Linked DNA regions of Homo sapiens: region 1 is linked to region 2. The links are contacts of gene promoters, found by promoter capture Hi-C in human tissues and cell types (Jung and others, 2019). All regions are on one chromosome and are shown on one strand. The core of a region is centred on a gene start or on the middle of the fragment in contact, and the rest is flanking DNA. Distances in the headings are between cores, read along the strand shown. Region 1 has its middle 22 kb from the start of GCNT3. Region 2 holds the start of SLTM (SAFB like transcription modulator).

Region 1 (3,910 bases), core at 176-2,675, 660 kb after region 2:
GAGGCTGAGGTGGGAAGGTGGGAGACTCTGTTTTTTTTTTTTTTTTTTTTTTTTTTTTGAGACGGAGTCTTGCTCTGGGGAGACTCTCTTGAGCCTGGGAGGTGGAGATTGCAGTGAGCTGAGATCCCGCCACTGCTCTCCATCCAGCCTGGGCAACAGAGTGAGATCCTGTCTCAAAAAACAAACCAACAAAAAACCCTCAAACAAACAAAAACAAATAAAAACTCAAGTGAAATATTTGTGAAAGGGAGAAGTTTACTTTCCTTGGAAAATAGATGGTTGAACATTACCATTAAGAAAAATTATTTAAAAGCTGGAAATGAGAAAGTTGGGCAGCATAGCATAGTCTTGCAGTATCAGATAAGGGCATCCAAGGATTTTTATTTATTTATTTTTTTGAGACACAGTCTCTCTATGTCACTCAGGCTGGAGTGCAATGGTGTGATCTCAGCTCACTGCAAGCTCCACCACCCGGTTCAAGTGATTTTCCTGCTTCAGCCTCCTAAGTTGGCTGGGTTTACAGGCGTGCACCACCACACCTGGCTAATCTTATTTTTGGTAGAGATGGGGTTTCACCATGTGGGTCAGGCTGGTCTCCAACTCCTGACCTCGTGATCCACCCACCTCAGCCTCCCAAAGTGCTGGGATTACAGGCACCTGGCCATTTTTTTTTTTTTTTTTTTTTTTTGAGGTGGTGTCTTGCTCTGTCACCGAGGCTGGAGTGCAGCGGTACAGTCTCGGCTCACTGCAACATTTGCCTCCCAGGTTCAAGCTATTCTCCTGCCTCAGCCTCCGGAGTAGCTGAGATTACAGGCACCTGCCACCACATCAGGCTAATTTTTGTATTTCTATTAGAGATGGGGTTTCACCATGTTGGCAGGCTGGTCTTGAACTCCTGACCTCAAGTGATCCACCCACCTCGGCCTCCCAAAGTATTGGGATTACAGGCGTGAGCCACTGTGCCCGGCCCTAAGGATGTTTTAATTATCTAGGGCAAAGCTTCTCAGTCTTCACACCAGTGACATTTTGAGCTGGATAATTCTTAGTTGTAAAGAGCTATCCTGTTCATTGTAGGATGTGCAGCATCATCTATGGCCTCCACGCACAAGATGCCAGCAGACACCACCTCCTGTGACCAAAAATGTCTCCAGACAATGTCAAATGTGCCCTAGGGAGGCGAAATCACCCCTGGTTGAGAACCACTGATCAGGGAGAATGCACCTTTGACTTTGCTATTTGCTAATAATAAACATGTTAAATGGCCGGAAAGCACTGTGTCTAGCTTTAGCTAACTCAAGCTCAGTAAAAGTATATGTTAACTTGCAGATCTTGTTTGGTAGAGATACAAATAATGTATATCCGGTAGAAGAGAAGGGCTCAAATGTTACGATTTTATATGGCCCTATAAGGCATTAGCCAGTTCTATGTCTAAGCTAGGAACTTTATTCCAACATTCTTTTATAAATGTCTACAAATATTTCGTTTCTCAAGGTGCCCTTTGAATCAGCTTTACTATCTTACTTCTTCCCTCATTAATTAGTAAGTTGAGTAAGTTTTTGACATCTTCAATGCATATTAGTAAAGAGTCAAGTTTTAAACTTCTGTGAAAATTATAATCTAGCATGATCGACTTTTCTCTCTGGGCTGACATGAGCTGGGGCTGCCAATCATAATATTTGGGCATTTCTCTTCTACTGGGCATAAATTACTTGTATCTCTACCAAACAAGATCTTCAAGTCAAAGGTACATTCTCCCTGATTATGGTTGTCAACCAGGGGTGATTTTGTCTCCCTAGGGTACATTTGACATTGTCTGGAGACATTTTTGGCCACAGCTCGGGGTAGGAGGTGGTATCTGCTGGCATATTATGGGTGGAGGCTATAGATGATGCTGCATATCCTACGATGAACAGGATAGCTCTTTACAACAAAGAATTATCTAGCTCAAAATGTCATTGTTGGCCAGGCACAGCAGCTCATGCCTGTAATCCCAGAACTTTGGGAGGCCAAGGTGGGCAGATCACTTGAGGTCAGGAGTTCGAGACCAGCCTGGCCAACATGGCGAAATTCCGCAAAAATTAGTTGGGCGTGGTGGCGTGTGCCTGTAATCCTAGCTACTCGAGAGGCTAAGGCAGGAGAATGACTTGAACCCTGGAGACAGAGGTTGCAGTGAACTGAGATCATAGTATTGCACTCCAGCCTGGGTGACAGAGCCAAAAAAGAAGAAAAAGTCATTGTGAAACTTGCGTCATGAGGCTCCTACCTTTCAGATTTGGCTTTCAATTTTTCTCATATCTGTGTGGTGCTTTTAGATCCTTCTTGTCTCTCACAACCCGGTCAGCGTATCCCTAGCATCACTGATCTGGTAGGGTCCTCACCATTTCTACCCGAACTATTGCAGTATCTCCCCAGCTAGCCTCTTCACTTCCTGCCTTTCTTTTTTCTTTTTCTTTGTTTCTTTTTTTGTTTTTTGAGACGGAGTCTCGCTGAGTCACCCAGGCTGGAGTGCAGTGGCGCTATCTTGGCTCAGTGCAACCTCTGCATCCTGGGTTTAAGCAATTCTCCTGTCTCAGCCTCCCAAGTAGCTGGGACTACAGGCGCATGCCACCATGCCCAGCTAATTTTTATATTTTTAGTAGAGATGGGGTTTCAGCTGGGCGTGGTGACTCACGCCTGTAATCCTAGCACTTTGGGAGGCCAAAGTGGGTGGATCACGAGGTCAGGAGTTTGAGACCAGCCTGGCCAACATGGTGAAACCCCATCTCTACAAAAGATACAAAAAATTAGCCAGGTGTGGTGGCATGCACCTGTAAATCCCAGCTACTGGGGAGGCTGAGGCAGGAGAATCACTGGAACATGGGAGGCGGAGGTTGCAGTGAATCAAGATTGCGCCATTGCACTCCAGCCTGGGCAACAGGGCGAGACTCCGTCTCAAAAAAAAAAAAAAAAAGATGGGGTTTCACCATGTTGGTCAGGCTGGTCTCGAACTCCTGACCTCAGGGATCTACCTGCCTTGGCCTCCCAGACTGCTGGGATTACAGGTGTGAGCCACTGTGCCCAGCTACTTCCTGCCTTTTGTGCCATCCTTTCATCCTTGCTGAGCTCTGCTACCAACTAAGGATTCTCAAAACATGGTTCTGACATGTTCCTCCCAGACAAAGATGCCAGGGAGCAGCATCACAGAATTTCTGATCTGAAAGAGCTTGTCTTTTAGATTTAGGTTTAGGGGTTCCAGTTTCTACACCCTGAGGAAACTGAGACCCAGAGAAGACAAGTAGCTGATTAAAGTCACACAGGGAAGAGAATATTGTATAGTCAGGTTGAAAGTGCCCTAGACAGTTCCTAGAAATTGACATTGTGCATAAATCCCGGATATTATTCTGCTCCCCATTCATTTTGGTTGGAAAGTACAAGGCAGAAACTGTTCCCACTAAACGAGTGTGGAGAAAGGGGTGCCAAGTAATTGAGACTTCCCTGGTTTCAATCAACACCTTCTAGATAAGTCTTTCATTATGAAAAACCACACACTGCTTAATCTGTCTTCCTGTGGCCTTAGGATCCTGCCTGCTTTAACCTCAACAAGCTCTGGGTTCCTTATTCTGCCACTCATTTGATTGTGCAGTTGGTTTTTCCTGATACTCCCATAATTAATTCTGTTTGCTTTTCATTGTATGTTCCTGCTTTCTTCCAGCTCTCTGGCCTCCCAGTCTACTTCCGTCTTTCTGTACTAACAACACCTTCTAGCCTCTGCTTTTTTGGATTTTCCCACAAAGAACTAACAAGTTGAGTTAAGTCCCTTCATTAACATTTTTTTAAAATCCCCATGTATAATTGGATCAGCGTGGTGTTCGATGCACGTTATTTTTGCACACTTGCACAGACTGTAATAAGTATCCCATTGGATTGTTGG
Region 2 (3,548 bases), core at 807-3,306:
TAAAGGTTTCATTTACCAAGAAGCTTTAAAAAATACCTAAGTTCCATTCATACTGCAAAACGTTCATTTAAAACCACTTTTAGCTAGTCACTAAATCATTATATCCTAGAAATAAATATATTTTGCTCTAGCTTAAAAGTTAAAAATAAGAATCTTTAACATCCCTATAATTTAAAACTTTTTTAAGCTAATTAATCATGGATTTTTCCCTCTACCTTGTTAGTATGATTGGTGAGGTCTTTTTGAATTTCACTAAAAATTAGGAGGTATAATGGCATAAATGCAAATTAAGTTCACCAAGTCAAACAAAGTACTAAACATAAAGGTTATAGAATTTTAATATACTAAAGAAAACAGCAAGGAGGCAAGGTAAAAGATTTGGTAGGAATTCCATCAAAACTCTGCCAATTGTGGGGCAAGGTAGACATGTGTTAAACTGTATTTTATTCAGGTCTTCACACTATGAAGCATCATTACACAACTTGACTTTGTAATTTTTTCCGGAAGCAATAAAGAACTGTTCTCACTTTCTAATCAGCTTCAGCCGAATCTTAAGGGCTACAAGTCACCCAAAGCCTGGCAACAGTAACTTTTCTTCCTTGACCCAAGAAGGCAGACTGCCAGAGGGAAATAGCAAAGAGTAGCACTATATAAACAGGGCAAGAGGCACAAGAGCAGAGGCAAGTTATATAACCAAAATATATTTTAAAACATGTTCATAACTCGTAACAACCTTTGCCTTTAGTTGGTTTCTTGTTTGGAGTATCAGTTGAAACAGTTAATTCAATATTATCTGGATCGCCTCCTTCCTCTTCAATAGCCTACATTAGAAAGAGAAGTTAATATGCTACACAATCTATCTAAACTTATTTTATAAAAACGAAATGAAAAAAAATTTAGCAAACCTCAAGCCTCAAGACATTAGAATTGCCAGTCATTTCATCAACCGACTTCAAAAATGAGCAATTAAACTACACGAAAGAGTGAGAGAAACTTTCAGGGGAAAAAAATCATTAGGTATCAAAATCGCAAGGAGTTTTAAATTCTACCGTGTCAAGATAATTAAATATCACATCATACTGGCCAAAAATCCAAATATGTTCTATTGCAGAAAAGTTGCTAGCTACTAAAGTAAATAACTAAAAAGAGTTTTCCTAGTTTCTGTAATGCAAACTTACTGCTCCTCTGCTACAATTCCAACGCTCACTCAAACCAGAAAGCTAATCAGGAAAGAAAAAGTAATTATTGCGCTGATGCAAAAACTAAAAGCCTAGTGGAAAACAAAAACTCTGTCACCCACCCATCAACTCCCACTACCAATTCCCCCTCAAGATGGGGAAGAAACGGTTGGGCACAATTAAACGGTAACTTCGCAGAAGTCACCAAAGTAACCATTCCCTCTGAGGCCAAGAAATGCACACGCTCACCATGGCTAAAGGCTGGGGAGCCAGCGCCTCCCAGGTCTCCGCGATCGCCCTTGGGAGGCCGCGCCGGCCGGCCGCAACCCTCGCAGCCTGGCGGGGACGTCCCGGGGAGGCGGAGGCACGCTGGGCTGCGGTGGCCGGTCCCTCGCAGGCCCGGCCCGGCCCGGGGCGCGGGGCGGGGGCACCGCGGAAGGGTCCCCGTCCTCCACGCTCGCGGGAGCCGCCCCTGGCCTCCCTACCATGCCGTTCCGCAGGTCCCAGCGGCTGCGGGCAGCCGGAGGCTGCGGCGGAAGCGGGGCGCCGAGGCGCGGCCTAAGTTCCCCTTCCCGGTCCTTTCCGGTCCTCGCCGGGCCTCACCTGCTTGAGTCGGGAGATGAGCACGGTCTTGACTCCGGTGATGTCTAAGTTCCGCCGCTTCAGCTCGGACTTCAGATCGATGACCCGCAGATCGGTGATCTTTTTACCTTCCGCCTGACCCGAGGCGGCCGAGGCTGCCACCGCACCGGTAGCGGCAGCCATCTTAGAAGAGCAGCGCGCTGCCGAGGCAGCGAGTGGGCTGCAGGGCGGCGGCAGCAGCGCCAACTTCCACCCAGGCCTCGGCGGCCGCCGGCGCCGCGCAGCGCTGCGCACAATGAGCCGCTGGCCCCTCCCCCGGTCCGCCACCCTAGCGCAACCTGCAGCAGCAGCCGCCAGCACCCGGATGACGGCCGCGCGTGCGCGTTGGCGCAGGGACCGGCAGCGGCGCGCTCGGTCGAGCGGGCCGCGGCCACTTGGGCGGTGCGCTCCCTTGTGTGGACTGGGAGGTCGGGCACGTCCTACCGCAGCAACGTCCGCCGCGCCGCCGTTCTCTCGTCGCTTCGTTAGCCATTTTCTTGCAACGTCTTGAGTCTTGAGCAACAACGATGTGCGGGCACTGAATGACATAGTGCGCGCGTTACTCAACACAAACCGAGGGGGCGCGTGCGCGCGCTGAACCTCTCAAGGAAATACTTTATCAGTTCTGCTGAATAATCGAAAAATTGTCGCCGGTGTGCACCAACGAACTAGGTTCCCCGAGTTCCATTCAAAAGACCTCAAAGCAGTTCTAGGGCTGTTAGTCCAAAGAATAGGAAGGGCTGGCCTTTGACACATGGCTCATTGGCTGTCTCAGGAGAAAACATCATCGCCCTGCCCATGGCAGCTTAGGTTATTCTAGGGCTGCCCTTCCTCACTTGAAAAACAGGAAAACTTCTTTCTTGTTGGCCTCAGGTTTGCTATCCTCCCCGGTAGACCTGATGGCTCAACACGAAATTGTTCAATGAAAGAGAAAACTAGCTTATAAGTACTTGTTGCCGTTATCATATACTGTGTTCACTATTTTGCCCCCCAAAATTTGGGATTCCAAGAACAGTGAGCATCTTCTTATGGAGGATCGGCCTGTACAAGTGAGTACCTATTTGTAATTTTACCTTGTATTATTCATTATCAAAGTGCAAGCATTGATAAAATAAAACGATTCTATAAATTCCATAAGGTGATTATGATGCACAATTAACTATACTGTATTTCCTGGTTTTACAACTTAAATTCCTGAGATCTGACTCACTTTAGGTTACTTTTTCTGATTGGCTCAAAAAAAAGGAAGACTGGACATTATAAAAGAATACCTGACATTAGGGTAGTTCTTTACAGTTTATAAGGCACTTTGACGTACAGTAACCCCCTTAATCCTTCCCAAGTCTGTCAAGTAAATCTCCGTGAGGCTTAGAGAGATTAAATGACTTGCCCATGTTCACACAGCTGGTATGTGGCCGAGCTGTGCTCAAATCCCAGGCTCCTGATTCCAAATCCAGCTCTGTCTCTGCTACAACATTGGATTCACAATAATAGAAGTTTAGAATGCAAGACTCCTTAGAAATCTTCTGGCCCATCACTTGAGGTCAGGAGTTCAAGACCAAACTGGCCAAGATACAGGGTTTAGTAGAAACCCCGTCTCTACAAAAAATACAAAAATTAGCCGGGTGTGGTGGTGAGCACCTGTAATCCCCGCTACTCGGGAGACTGAGGCAGGAGAATCACCTGAACCCGGAAGGCAGGGGTTGCAGTGAGATCCGGCCGCTGCACTCCACCCTGGGCAACAGAGCA

Evidence for each region. Contacts are between HindIII fragments. The study calls those that stand out against the background at their distance.
Region 1: a contact is called between a fragment that was not itself captured here and the fragment with the promoter of SLTM in region 2, in 2 of the 25 tissues and cell types used here (hippocampus and lymphoblastoid cells).

Annotation. Positions count from the first base shown.
Region 1 is chr15:59,587,926-59,591,835 of GRCh38, forward strand. No RefSeq gene overlaps it. Among named protein-coding and RNA genes, the nearest start is that of GCNT3, 22 kb to the right of the region's middle. The HindIII fragment of the contact is 7,810 bases long and covers 1-3,910 here.
Region 2 is chr15:58,931,623-58,935,170 of GRCh38, forward strand. SLTM (SAFB like transcription modulator) reads right to left here and starts at 2,057. Exons shown (of 21, transcript NM_024755.4): 1 at 1,782-2,057; 2 at 734-821. The coding sequence starts at 1,943. RefSeq lists silencers at 1,414-1,673, 2,044-2,223 and enhancers at 1,724-1,963, 2,254-2,393, 2,414-2,503. The HindIII fragment of the contact is 29,686 bases long and covers 1-3,548 here.